4 separate regions of the Homo sapiens genome follow, and all the other regions are linked to region 2. The links are contacts of gene promoters, found by promoter capture Hi-C in blood cells and fetal thymus (Javierre and others, 2016). All regions are on one chromosome and are shown on one strand. Each heading gives the region's core, a stretch centred on a gene start or on the middle of the fragment in contact. The rest is flanking DNA. Distances are from core to core; before and after follow the strand shown. Region 1 has its middle 7.3 kb from the start of ALKBH8. Region 2 holds the start of DDX10 (DEAD-box helicase 10). Region 3 overlaps ALKBH8 (alkB homolog 8, tRNA methyltransferase). Region 4 has its middle 120 kb from the start of LINC02715.

The links. The method cuts DNA at HindIII sites, captures the fragments that hold promoters and counts their contacts. A CHiCAGO score of 5 or more calls a contact.
Region 1: a fragment that was not itself captured here is called in contact with the fragment with the promoter of DDX10 in region 2 in 6 of 17 cell types (total CD8 T cells, total CD4 T cells, naive CD4 T cells and 3 more); the score reaches 7.9 in total CD8 T cells.
Region 3: a contact is called between a fragment that was not itself captured here and the fragment with the promoter of DDX10 in region 2, in 1 of 17 cell types (total CD8 T cells). The highest score is 5.3, in total CD8 T cells.
Region 4: a fragment that was not itself captured here is called in contact with the fragment with the promoter of DDX10 in region 2 in 2 of 17 cell types (M2 macrophages and M0 macrophages); the score reaches 6.1 in M2 macrophages.

Annotation. Positions count from the first base shown.
Region 1 is chr11:107,571,272-107,574,832 of GRCh38, reverse strand. No RefSeq gene overlaps it. Among named protein-coding and RNA genes, the nearest start is that of ALKBH8, 7.3 kb to the right of the region's middle. The HindIII fragment of the contact is 413 bases long and covers 1,371-1,783 here.
Region 2 is chr11:108,663,660-108,667,329 of GRCh38, reverse strand. DDX10 (DEAD-box helicase 10) reads right to left here and starts at 2,261. Exons shown (of 18, transcript NM_004398.4): 1 at 1,991-2,261. The coding sequence starts at 2,176. The HindIII fragment of the contact is 12,853 bases long and covers 1-3,670 here.
Region 3 is chr11:107,550,860-107,554,220 of GRCh38, reverse strand. ALKBH8 (alkB homolog 8, tRNA methyltransferase) reads left to right here. Exons shown (of 12, transcript NM_138775.3): 4 at 243-374; 5 at 1,018-1,113; 6 at 2,309-2,413. Among named protein-coding and RNA genes, the nearest start is that of ALKBH8, 13 kb to the left of the region's middle. The HindIII fragment of the contact is 688 bases long and covers 1,645-2,332 here.
Region 4 is chr11:109,940,296-109,944,007 of GRCh38, reverse strand. No RefSeq gene overlaps it. Among named protein-coding and RNA genes, the nearest start is that of LINC02715, 120 kb to the right of the region's middle. The HindIII fragment of the contact is 2,399 bases long and covers 777-3,175 here.

The DNA of each region.
Region 1 (3,561 bases), core at 328-2,827, 1.1 Mb after region 2:
GTTGGCCCTAGGCCGTGCACGGTGGCTCACACCTGTAATCCCAGCACTTTGGGAGGCCAAAGCGGGAGGATCACTTGAGGCCAGGAGTTCGGGACCAGCCTGGCCAACACGGTGAAACCCCGTCTCTACTAAAAATACAAAAATTAGCCAGGCGTGGTGGCAGGCACCTGTAATCACAACTACTCAGGAGGCCGAGGCAGGAGAATTGCTTGAACCTGGGAAGCTGAGGTTGCAGTGAACCAAGATTGCGCCACTGCACTCCAGCCTGGGTGACAGAGCAAGACTCTTGTCTCAAAAAATAAAATAAAAAATAAAATAAAATAAAAGCTAGCTCTTTTACTCATGCGATAACAGACATGGATGTAAATCACTCTTTAAAATATTTTATATTTAAATCCCAGCACTTTGGGGGGCCAAAGCAGGCGGATCATGAAGTCAGAAGATCAAGACCATCCTGGCCAATATGGTGAAACCCATCTCTACTAAAAATTACAAAAAAATTAGTTGGGCATGGTGGCGCATGCCTGTAGTCCCAGCTACTTGGGAGGCTGAGGCAGGAGAATCACTTGAACCCAGGAGGCAGAGGTTGCAGTGAGCCGAGACTGCATCACTGCACTCCAGCCTGGCAACAAAGCAAGACTCCATCTCAAAAAAATACAAAAATAAAAATAAAAAAATTTATATTTAAACAGCTCATACATTTTGTCTTTAAGTCTCAGTTGTTACATTTGTAAAATGGGATATAAGAGATGCCAAAAAGAGTTGTTTTTATTTTTTATTAAAAATTTTTTAAAAACTTTTGTCAAATTATAAAACATAATCTATTATTCTTTAATAATTTAATAATCTGAAATTTGAATCATCTGCTTCTTGGTCCTTGCACCTTATAAAATTAAAATACTTCCCTTGAAATGAGAATTCCAAATATACTAGAAATCTGGCAGCTTCTCACTCTGGGGATGATTTTTAAAGAGGTCTATGTTGACAAATAACATACAATCTTTTTCCTCAGTGGTTGAACACTTGCAAAAGTAGCAAAATTGCTTGTTAAACATGCAGGTTACTGGGCCCTGGCCCCAGAGATTTTGGAGCACACACTGTAACCAACTGGTGTTCAGAGAATTAAAATTTATATGTGCTTTAAGTTGACTCGTTATGTCTAGTGGGGTTGGAGACCACTTAACCAAGCACTTCAGTGATTCTGATGCAAGTAGTCTAAGAACCAGCCTTTGAGGAACATGCCCTAGTGCAGTGGCCTCTAAAGTGAAGTGTGTATGGCTTGTGGGATTTAGAAGAATATTCTAGAAATTCCATTTATATGTTTATCTAAAACAAATTAATCTCTATTCACATTTAATATCCTGGAAGCTTCATTAGGTGTGAATGTCTGATGTTACATGTCACAGACTTTATGAGAGGTGCTCTAGAAGAGGAGAGGAGTGAGAGCTCACAGGCAGGACAGCTGCCTCTGGCATCCTCCCTCTTTTGATTTAAGCGAGACATTATTTTTTTGTGGTGCCTGATAAATGGATTTTTGGATTATGTAATCCAAAAACTATTTTTTGCAAAATGGACAAGTGGGTTAGAAAACTCTGAATTCCCTACAGTGAAGATGAATATAGACAATAATTCAAGCACAAATAACCAACAGAAAATAGCAAAATTAATGCTCCTAGTATGAGCTCTCAGTCCCAACCTAACAGCTGAGACTATCTAATCAGATCTGACAAGAAGTCTACTCCCCAAACTAGAAGCGATCACAAATATAGTTAATAATGAAGCTTGCCCTCTCTGGGCAAATATCTTTGTGTCTTTGAGAAATTAATGATAGAATGAAGCCATCAATGTGGCAAGACATTTTTAAATGAAATGTTTATACATTTTTAAAATATACTTTTTTCTTCTACATTTAAGGGAAACATTTTTAAAAGATTTTGTTTTATTTTATCATAACCTTTTAAAATCCACAAATCCCACACCTCTAGCCACCCCAAAGATTTTCCTGCACCCTGAGTTGCCTGCTAGTTCTTTATTCTCATCTATTTAAAAAATCTGTGTAGAAAAGAAAATTATTCTGCAAAGTAAGCAGGCCTTTAGCCTCAAGAATAAATAGACCATTTGGGGGAGGTTAATGCTTCGTAGCTAAAATTGTATGCTTTGCAAATGACCAAAAAAAAAAAATAATAATAATAAATGAATTCTCCAAGCTGAGTTTTATGTTTTGTATTATAAATTAAAGGCTGACCCTTTTCCTTCTCCTCTGTTTTTTTTCTTGGTTACCTTTTGCCTCTAATTACTGTACAGGGAATACTTTCACCATATGACTTATAAAACTGCAAACTTTTCATTGAATTTTTATCACCATAGCGTGAATAATGTATTCAGTCCTGAAATGTCACAGTGAACATCAAATGGTTTTACATAATGCATTCTTGCTGAAGTTTCAAGAAGCCAGCAACCAGGGAAGCAGCAGAGAAGACACAACTTTGGAAAGAAAACTTGATACAAATTTGTCATTTTTCCAGGAGGAATAAAATAAGTAGCAGAAGAGTAAATGAGAGGAAAGACTGAGAAATAAAACTTTTTTTTTTTAAACCATAAATAGAAAAACAAGCAAAACTAGTACAGTTGCCACAGGGGACAACTGGAAGAAAAACTAGAAAGTAGCCAGAAACAGATGGTGGGGAAAGGGGCTGTAGGGAGAAGGGCGAGGTTAGAAACCTCATAACCATAGGAATTGAGTTTGAAACTGCAGTCAAACAGTTTCATAGTTTGGAACTACAGTAAAAATGTAACAATTTTCAAGGACTATTGGGGCCATTTTCAATTTTTTTCTGATTGAAGACTCTTGAACTAGAATACAATAGCTGTAAGAATTCTAGTTTTGGATGCTTTATTAGCTGATGAGAGTGCTCATTACTCTGTCGTCCAGGCTGGAGTTCAGTGGTGCAATCATAGCTCACTGTCACCTTGAATTCTTGGGCTCAAGTGATCCTCCCATGTTAGCCTCTTGAGTAGCTAGGACTATAGGTGCATGCCACCATGTCTGGCTAATTGAAGAGTGGCCATTCTTTTAGCATCCTTTTCTCATAGGTTTGGGGAGAGCTCGTAATGTGACAATCTGGCCAAAAATAAGTGCTCCATCCCTTATGGGACACACTGTTAGTGGTCTACCCAATGATTGTCTCCCCTTTTTCTTGCTAATAGAAACCTATTCCCCTCATTCCCTGCCCATAGTCTGTCAAGGTCTCTTGATCTCAGGGAGGACACACTTCATCCAAGCCCCACAGAGTGAATCATGATTGGCCTTATAGCAGTCATGGTAATTCTACTTCCCTTAGCTACTGTTTGATATGGGGGTGAGAGTGTGTAATAGTTTTCTATTGCTGCTGTAACAAATTACCACAAGTTTAGCAGTTCACAGCAACGCAAATTTATTATATCACAGTTCTGTAGGTTGTAAGTTTGGGTTGGTTCAGTTGACTTCTCTGCTCCGAACTTCATAAAGACAAAATCCCAAGAAGCCAACTGGCTGGGCTCTTATCAAGATACCCTTGGAAG
Region 2 (3,670 bases), core at 1,012-3,511:
TACAGAGGACAAATTAAAAGGTTTAAGGCCTAGGGGACAAAGCCCATCAGCCACCTGTTTCACTAATTAAAGTTTTACTGAAAAACAACACCCATTCATTTAAGTATTTCTATGGCAGCTTTTGTATTACAAGGGAACAATTGAGTAGTTCCACCCTTAGGACTACAAAGCTGAAAACATTCACTATCATTTACAGAGAAAGTTTGCTGATCCCTGTTGAAAGCAATATTTACTATAGTAATCCAGGCAAGAGATGATGGGGACTGAAGACAATGCAGTAGGGATGAAGAAGCATTTGAAAAATGTAAGCAGAACAGATCAGCAGTGTGACCGACTGGATATAAGAGTAGGTAAGAGAGAAGTAGCTAAGACTGCTCCTAGGTTTCTAGCTCTACGGTCTGCTGAGATGGTGGAGCTAGGATGTGGTGCTGAAAATGATCCCAACTCATGTCCATGTATTAACTTCTGGAAGGGATGAATGTTACCTTACATGGCAAAAGTGACTTTTCAGATGTGATTAAATTAAAGATCTTGGGATGGGGTGATTATCCTGGATTATCTGTGTAGGCCCTAAACGCAATCGTAAGCGCCCTTATAACAGAGGAACAGAGATAGACTGACACAGGAGAAGGCAGAGACTGGAGTTATGCAGCCACAGGCCAAGGAATGCCAGCAGCCACCAGAAGCTACAAGAGGCAGGAAACAGATTCTCCCCTAGAACCTCTGGAGGGAGCAAGTCCCTGCTGACACCTTGATTTTGGCCCAGTGAAACTGATTTCAGACGTATGGCCTCCAGAACTGTGACAAGGTAAATCTCTGTTGTTGCTGGGCTTTTTTGTTTGTTTGTTTAAGACAGAGTCTCACTCATGTCACCCAGTCTGGAGTGCAATGGTGCGATCTGGGCTCACTGCAACCTCTGCCTCCCGGGTTCAAGCGATTCTCTTGCCTCAGCCTCCCGAGTAGCTGGGATTACAGGCACCCACCACTAGGCCCAGCTAATTTTTTTGTATTTTTAGTAGAGGCGGGGTTTCACCATGTTGGTCAGGCTGGTCTCGAACTCCTGACCTCAAGATCTCTGTTGTTTTAAGCCGCCAAGTTTGTGGTAATTTGTTACAATGGCAACCTTAGTTACAAGAATGTTCCATCTGTTAAATCCCTGATTGTACTGCACTAGAAGGGGGCTGAGAAGCTGAAAGATGTGGGTGAAGACCAACAAACATGGGATTTAGGGAAAGGGAAAAGAGGAATTGACAGACCTGTGGAGTCTGGAGGTTGGGGGAAGAAGTCAGGAGGTCAAAGTGATCATTACAGGTATACTCATCTGGGAACACCAGCTACAATGTGGGGATGATAGGTGACAGAAACAGACCAGCGGTCCAGCTTTTCTAGGCCAATTCTTGGATGGGGACATGAAGCCTGTGGAGAAAATGAGGTGGCCACAGGAAGGAGCATAGATGATGTTGAGGGATGCAGTCTGGCTTCATGGTTAAAAGCAAAGGCTTTGGGATTAGAAAGACATGGATCTAGCTTCCAATTCCACACCACCTACTAAGCGTGAAAGATTCGGACAAGTTTCATTCCTCTTAGAACCTCAATTATCTCATCTGTTAAATAGGATTATTAATATCCATACCTCAGATCAAGTCAAACAATTACTGTAAGCACATGGTGAGTGCTTAAAAATGTAGGTGTCATTATTACCACTATTGTCATCAGTATTATTAATATGAATATGACTGTAGCTATTACAGCATTAGTCTCCCTACCCTTAGGTACGGCCGCATTTCTATTATTTTTTTAGGAACAGTGTGGCAAGCAGAAGAGTGGCCAGAACGGTGCAGAGGTTTGAGCTGTGGCACCCGGCGTGACCTCTCATTCCCGGCCGGGTCCCGGTGACAGATCCGCCGCCTCCACTCTGCAACTCCTCGCCGCAGTGAGACGCTGCCCCGCTGCTGGCCGGCCCGAGCCCCCTCCCCAGCGCCGGCCTCACCTTTTCATAGTTCTGCATGAGGCGGCTGATACTCTCGCGCTCGACCTGCCATTCGGGTTTCTTCAGTTGCTTCCTCAACTGCTTCTTTTTGTTCTGCCTATGGCTGTGTTTTTTCTTCCAGCGATTGAAGCTCCGCACCGGGTCGGGTCGGGCTCCCGAACCCGGAGAGTTGGCCGTTTTGCCCATTGCGGCGGCGGCGGCGACAGCTCGGATCAACCCCAGACACGAGACACCTAAGGCCAGACTCACGGAACCAGCATGGGACAAACGCACAGAGGCGCATGCGCGAACTCAGAAGCCCGCCCCCGAGCTTTTGAAACCGGGGCACGCGCCAATGACGTCAGGAAAAGGAGGGCTGTGATTGGCGAATTGGCTCCTGCTGGGAGGGGCAGCCTGGGGAAACGGGGGCGCAGCACTCCACGGAAGGGGGCGAGCTGAGCCGAGCCGGGAGCACGCCGGCTCTTTAAAAAAAAACGCATGCGCACTGTTGTTGTTACTATGGTGACGTCATACACTGACCCTTTAAGGGCTATTAACACATTTGCTCCAGGTTCAACTTTGCTAAGCGTTCGTGAGTATGTGTGTAAACACATACAATCTGTGAATGAAAATTGTGACCCTCGTTTTGCACTTTTCGGGCCAACGAGCCAAAAGATTTGCCCAGAAGTAAACAGCTAGTTAGTGACTTCTGATTTCCATCCATGGTGGTTGTACTTCCTCAGGAATAAAAATGAATATTCTATATTCTTCTTATGCCCCTCTGGGTTTTCCTTTTCCTCTGGGCCCCTCAGACTCTAGCTGCAACAGCAAGGAAACTGGAACGGAATCAAATTGAATTTGCCTTAAAATGCTTTTATGGAGACAAAATGATAACTAAACGTAAGGAGGTAGGTAATAGAGGCCGGGCACGGTGGCTCACGCCTGTAATTCCAGCAATTTGGGAGGTCGAGGTGGGTGGATCACCTGAGGTCAGGAGGTCGAGACCAGCCTGGCCAATATGGTGATGCCCTGTCTCTGCTAAAAATACAAAAATTAGCCAGGCGTGGTGGTGCACACCTATAATCCTAGCTACTTGGGAGGCTGAGGCAGGAGAATCGCTTGAACCCCGGGGGCGGAGGTTATAGTGAGCCAAGATCGCCCCACTTCACCACAGCCTGGGTGAAAGAGTGAAACTCCGTCAAAAAAAAAAAAAAAAGGAGGTAATAGAAAAGTTATTGCAAGTTGGACATTTAAGTGAACTGGCTTTCAATGAATTGAATTTTTTGACACATTTACCTACAGCCTCCAGGAAAACACCGGATGTGGGTGGGAGAGCTTAGCTGTAGCAAAGGAGATTGGAAAATTGAGTTCAAAGTTCACAGGCAGAATTTTGGGCTCTCAAATTTCCTTTCCAACCCCACATATCCAGATCACTACTCTCAACTCTATGCCCATCCTCCAAACAAGACATGGCTTATTGGAAGGGAGTGAGGACAGGAGGTGAACAAGAGAATTTCCACACTCAGGAACACTAGATGTGGTAGACAGTAAAGCTCAATAAGGAGTGATTACATGAAAGTGTATATACATCCTCAAAAAATTAAAAATAGAACTCCACGTGAGCCAGCAATTTCACTTCTGGGTATGCATAGCCAAAATAATCGAAAGCAGGGTCTCAGATATTTGCATACCGTGTTCACC
Region 3 (3,361 bases), core at 739-3,238, 1.1 Mb after region 2:
CCGGCTACTTAAATAAATACTGTTCTGTTTGCTGTTGGTAATTGCAGTGGATAAAGTGTACCATCATTTTGATCTTGGTCTTTGTTTCTGCACTTTTAATATGTTGGGTGCCTTTCAGCAATCTTGTTTCCGAAAATGAGGATTTGAAGTTTTGTGAACTGATAAAGAGTTATTGGGCAGAATTATTTGTATATAGGAACTTTAAGTTTTGCATGTGACTATTTTAATTTGGTTTCCCATAGTGCAGTGGAAGGAGTTGAGGCCTCAAGCCTTACCACCAGGACTCATGGTAGTAGAAGAAATAATTTCTTCTGAGGAGGAGAAAATGCTTTTGGAAAGTGTTGATTGGACAGAAGATACAGACAATCAAAACTGTAAGTAAAACTTTCAAAATCTGATATTTGAAAGTTTCTGCAAAACTCTTCTTCCTTTCCTCTGTCTTTCATGGTTTATTAATATTTCCTCAAAATTACTGAAACTAGCCCGGATCCAATGTTAGGCAAGTCATACCAACAATTCTTAGGAACATTAATAATAAATAACATTTATATAGCTATCAAATTTTAACTCCAAACTGATTAGTATTATCCAACATTTATATAGCTTTTATAAGCCTTTTCACTTATTTTATTCATTCCTCCCCACCCTAAGGCAAGTTTTCCTTGAGGAATTAGCAGTTCAGTACCACAATATTATAATATAGTGAGAGCTTCCTGGAGATATTTGCAAATTGGAGTTTTTCTGACTCTTTCTAGCTCATTGGCAATGTTGTAAATGGTAGTGTACATGTTAGTTTTCAGATTGATTGGGTAAAACTCTTGAAGAGTTTGTTACAATTTTAGACTTGAAATAACAACAAATATAAGGCAAAATGGTTAATTTTGTTAAAGACCATAATTTACCAATTAACAGAAGTTGCCATTACTAAACTAATCCTTACTCAAAAAGTTGACTGAAATATGCAAAGGAATGTAATTCTTTTCCTTCTTAATTGTTTACTTTGTTCTCTTCACACAGCTCAAAAATCCTTAAAACACAGAAGAGTAAAGCATTTTGGTTATGAGTTCCACTATGAGAACAACAATGTAGATAAAGATAAGCCATTATCTGGGGGTAAGTAATTGCTAATACATAATAAATTCTGGCTCAAAAATATTAATATATTAGTAGAATATGATAGTTGGGGGATTATGTTTCTTTTGTCATTTGTAGATAAACTTTCTGAACAGTTTATTTAAAACACTTTAATTAGATAAATTGTATAGTTTTGTTGTAAAAAAATTTCAAACTGGATAGAGCTGAAGTTCATCATTATTATCCTTATTCCCATGCTGCTTCTCATTTTACTGAATGATCCATAATAGCTTATTCAAATAGTTCTCTATCGATAGACATTTAGGTTGTTTCTGGTTTTTAGCTTTCATAAGTAATGCTGCTGTGAATATCTTTGAACATGCCTCTGTGCCCTGTGCAAGAGTTTCTCAAGGGAGACTACTAAGAAGTAGAATTGTCATGTTGAAGTTTATGTTCACTAAAAAACGTTAATTGATACTGACAAATTGCTTCCTAAAACAGTTGTACCAGCATATTCTCACCAAATGTGTACCTACTTCCCCATTCCCCAACCTGTGGTGTTGTAAAGCTTTTAAATTTATAATTTCTTGATTACTGGTAAGGTTGGTCATTTGTATTTCCTTTCCTGTGAATTCCTTTTTATATTCTTTGCCAGTTTTTTCCCAATGAAGTGTCTAATTGATTAAGAATTTACTGTATATTCTGGCTTTTAATCCATTGATATAATTGGTATAATTCTTTGTTGGAGTTAAATTTATCTATTTTTTTAATGACTTTGGTCTCACTTAAGGCTTTTCTTCCATCATGAAACAACATTTATGACTCCAATAAAAGTAAGTTAGTTCCACTTTGGAAGATGTGTTTTTTTTAAGGGAAATAATTTAAAATAATTAAATTTAAAATAAATGGTATAATTTAAAATAACAAAAAAAGAAAGTGGACAATTTCAATATATAGTATATTTTTATAATTTTATTGCTATTTTATAAAATACCAAAACTGTTGTTAGAATTGTTCTTTTAAACTTTTTATCTGAAAAAAAATCAATGAAATGACTTTAAAAGATTCCTAAATTTTTTTATTTTTTAATTTTGTTTTGCTTGTGGGTTTATTAATGGACCTGACTGCTAAATTAAAAGCTCAGAGATTTATATCACAGTGACTTTTAAAATTGTTGAGTAAAACAAGCAAAGTAAATATTTTAATGTTTTGTCTTTATGATTACTCATTGTAGGTCTTCCTGACATTTGTGAAAGCTTTTTGGAGAAATGGTTGAGGAAAGGTTACATTAAACATAAACCTGATCAAATGACCATAAATCAGTATGAACCTGGGCAAGGTGAGTATTTCTTGTTCAAAAATTTTAGTCACATATTTTGGAACTGAGTAGATGATATAATTCTCTAAGGGCAGATATATTATTATTATTATTATTATTATTTTTTTTTTTTTGAGATGGAGTTTCGCTCTTGTTGCCCATGCTGGAGTGCAACGGCGTGGTCTCGGTTCACTGCAACCTCTGCCTCCTGGGTTCAAGTGATTCTCCTGCCTCAGCTTCCCAAGTAGCTGGGATTACAGGCGCACACCATCATGGCCCAACTAATTTTTGTATTTTTGTAGAGATGGGGTTTCACCATGTTGGCCAGGCTAGTCTCAAACTCCTGACCTCAGGTGATCTGCCCGCCTCAGCCTCCCAAAGTGCTGGGATTACAGGCATGAGCCACCGCGCCCAGCCAAGCAAATACATTATTTTTAAGCTCAAATTAACTGTCAGATTGCCTTGCTTATGTTTGTTACTTGTGTTGACTTCAGTCTTTGCAAATCTACACTTTAATCCCTTGAGGAACTTGCATTTCAAAGTGTAAACACACTGATACAAATCACTGTTTGTGATTTTTTTTGTTTGTTTCCCTTTCAACGTTTCCTTTAGAGAGGGAAGACATTGGTCTGAAAAACATAGGAGACGTGTAATGGAAGAAACCAAATAATTTATAGATAGAAGAAGGCTGATTGGTTGGATGATCTTTCTCTTCTTTCTATTTGATAATATGGGAGACAATTGCAGGATGACATTCTGGTGAAAAATCTTTATGATACTGATTTCTTATACTTGTTAGCAGCATCTTCATCTGACGTTTATAGCAATCAAATGATTTTAAGGGTTTTATTTTTTACTTTTTTTGGCTTAAACAACAGAAATGTATTTTTTCACAGTGTAGAGGCTGGGAAGTTCAAGATCAAGGTGCTGGTTGATTGGGTTCCTGGTGAGGCCTCCCTTCCTGGCTTG
Region 4 (3,712 bases), core at 727-3,226, 1.3 Mb before region 2:
ACTTTTCCATCTTCTTTCTAGCTGGATATTTAGATAAACTACTTATTGCTAATTAAGTTTGGATATTTATTACTTTTAGCAAGCACTCAATCAAGAAATATTTAAACCTAATATGTGCTGATAACTATGCTTGGATCTGTTGGAGAAAGGGATGGTAACAAAAAAATGAGACAAAGTATAAGTAACATCTGCTTTGATTTGCAAATTACCTCTACAGTTCTCTCAAAAATAATATTTTCCCCCCAAGTCTGCATCTCTTTCACAAAACATTACATTCCGAACAGAAATTAGGTTTTAACTCATTTCTATTTTTTTTTCTTTTTTTGTATTTGGCCTAAGAGGGCTAAGGTAGGATTATGTATTTCTCACTTTTTCTCATAATGTTGGGTGAAAAAAAAAATCAATCCTGACTCCCTGAATCCCAATTGCTACATTATAAATATACAAAAATGCAACTGGAAGGTCTTTGAACAAAATATTATTGGGCTTCTTATTTTAAATATTCTCCTTATGTGTGTCATTTAAAAAATTCATATAGTTTGGGGAAATAACCTTATTTTAAAAATATACCTTTCTTCAAAAAAAACAAAAACAGACAAAATAAATAAAATATACCTTTTTGAGATATTATCTTACCTTGCTGCTGCTATTTCTCTCTCTCTTCCTCTCAGTCTCTTCCTCTCTTCCTCTCTCTCTCTCTCTCTCTCACACACACACACACACACACACACACACCACAGTCACTTAATCTCATCCTCTTGCTTTGGGGACAAGCTTGGTAGCAAGTTTGGGGACAAACTGAAAAAATGGCCATGTAGCCAAAGAAACCAGATTGCAGCTTTCATCTACCAAGAAACAATCGTATATAGATGAGAAAATATTGAACATTTCTGACAGTAATTTAATGTGATCCATTTAAAAGTCAAATGACAGTTTTAAATATGGAAATTTTAGTTTCTCATCCACATCAACAGATATTAAAATTTCTACAATTCCTTATGGCTATGTCAGTCTTGATGTGCATAATGCCTTTTAAAAATAAGACTCAGCAGAAAAATCTCCATACTAATCTGGAGCTTTGGAAGAAACAAAATTACTTTTTTATGACAACTGAATAGCTTCTTAAATCATTAAAGTGCTCCTTCATTTTAGCCATCAGTTGCAGCTGAAGGCTAGATCCTGAAAACTGAAGTATTTCTAGCCTAAATATTGGAAGAATAGCCTGGTAGTTTGAGGCTGGAAGGACTCTTGGAGCCATCTTCTCCTTCTAGGCCCAGACTCCATTTCTCAAGGGACTTGTCCAAAGCCTTGTAGCCAGTTGAGGCAGGGTTGGGCTGAGAACTCATGCCTGTGATGTTCAATCCAATCCTATCCCATGTGCTAAGCTGTTCTCTCAGTCCTAGAGAACTATAGCCTCCCTCATTGTCTTCTCTGAGATCCATTCAATATTGTAAAAGGTCCATTTCTGTTGAAAGAGAGAGTGTCAATATCAGAGCAGGAATAATGAATCCTACCCCAAAGTTCTTAGGCACAGAAATACAATTCTCACGCATAGACATAAACGCAACGTTAATGTGATAGTTTGTCTTCAGTACAGCATATATAATGCTTTCTCTAATAAATTTCACTAATATTAACTGGATGCGTGGAAGCAAGAACCAAATCATACAAAAGAATGGTGAGTCCTAACTATGAAAACAGTAGAAGTTCTTTACCTAAGATACCCATAATTATGGCTTTCAATTGTTTTCTGTTTACTTAAAATCATTACATAAGCAAAGCATCACACTTTTGCAATTTGCTCTTGATTCTTGCCTACTACTAGGAGCTTAATTTGCTACTTTAGAGAGAGAAACTTTGCATAAACAGGGTCTCTTCCTCCAATTTTTTCCATATAAACAGCAATTATGTGATTTTTTTCTTGTATCTTATTTAGACAATTGAGAATGTATGTATAGTACTAAACATTTCTCTTTTTGAAATATAAATAACTTGACTTCCTTTGTTGACATTTTCAATTCTCCAAAAATTGAGGAAACAATGAGGGATTGGCTTTCTGGAACTTAATTCTAAGCAAAAGAGATTTAGAGTGAGACTAGATTTCTTAAGTGCAATTAATTGGTTAAATCTATATTTATGTTTTGATTTAGGAAATAATAGTTAAGAATAGAGAAATCTGATGCTTATTATTATTGGATAAAAGCATGCCAAAGAGTAGTAAAAGGTGCTGTAAAGACATGACTTGACTTTCAAAGGAGGGTGATTGAAGATTGGCTTAGAGGTGTTAGCAGAGAGCCAAGAGAATGCCACTCTCTCATCCTCTCAGGGCAGAAATACAGGAAGCTAGAGAAAAAAGGAGTGCCAACTTGAAGATATCTCTAGAGAATGGTGTTCACCGGGGAAAAAATTTAGGTTTAATTTTGTGAGTACATGTTTAGCTGGAGCTCACAACCCTTTACAACCCTTTTTCAGAGAGGTTTCAAATGTAAGCTCATTTGATCAAACACACGGGGAGCTCAGGCAATGATGTTTTTATTGGCATTTCCTTAGAGTAGTATCAAGTACAATTGTTTCAATGTTGTTGAATATTAAAGATGGAAGAAAGCTAGTTCTATTTAGTCTCTTATTCTGACTTTGCCAAGATACCATAAATATTGTTACTCCCACATTTCTCACCATTCTCCAAAAGTCAAATCACAAGTGTTGATTAAATGTCTATTTATGCATTTAATTAACTGGGATGGAGGTTCCCGTGGAGAAAAAGACATTTGTCCATCCTTTTCCTACACTATACCATTGTTTATTTCTCATGTCTCTGACTTTACCCCCTTAGCCATCCTTCTTTACCCCCTTAGTCATCCTTCACCGATTTGCTACTTGTGAACTCTTCCTTGTTCGTCAAAACTTCAGCTTAAATTTTACCTTCTTTTCCATGTCTGCCCGGATTCAGCTAAGCTGAATGAACCCTTCCTCCTCCTTGTTTTCAAAGAAACGTGTGCAGATTGCGTGTCATGGCGCTTCTGAATGTTGTATTACAGTTACTTGTTTACATGCTCTATCACCACTACGTTGTCAAGTCATGTCTGAGTCATCTCTGCCACTGTCTCCAACCTTAGGTCTTATTAGAATTTGATGACTGTTTGCCTTGAGGAGCTTACTCTTTAGGCAAGAAGCTTGTTTAAAATAATCGAAAATTATAGGAGGCAATAATGAATTCTTTAACTCATTTAGCAAATTTTTTACTAATTGCCAATCTTGGCCTGAATATAGAAATGAATAAGACAGACTTGTTACCTGACTTCATAGGCTTTAAAATTTGAGCTTAGAGATAGGGTTTTTTTTTTTTTTTGGAGCTGGAGTCTCACTCTGTCTCCCAGGCTGGAGCTCAGTTGTGCGATCTTGGCTCACTGCAACCTTCACCTTCTGGGTTCAAACAATTCTCCTGCCTCAGCCTCCCAAGTAGCAGCTGAGATTACAGGTGTGAGCCACCATGCCTGGCTAATTTTTGTGTTTTTAGTAGAGACAGGGTTTCACCATGTTGACCTGGCTGATTTTGAACTCCTGACCTCAAGCGATCTGCCCACCTCAGCCTCCCAAAGTGCTGGGATTACAGGTGTGAGCCATCCCACCTGGCCTAGAAATAGATATTAAGTAACAAAGTATAAAGATGGCTTGTGATTAGTGAGAAGACAGAATGCAGAATAGACACAGG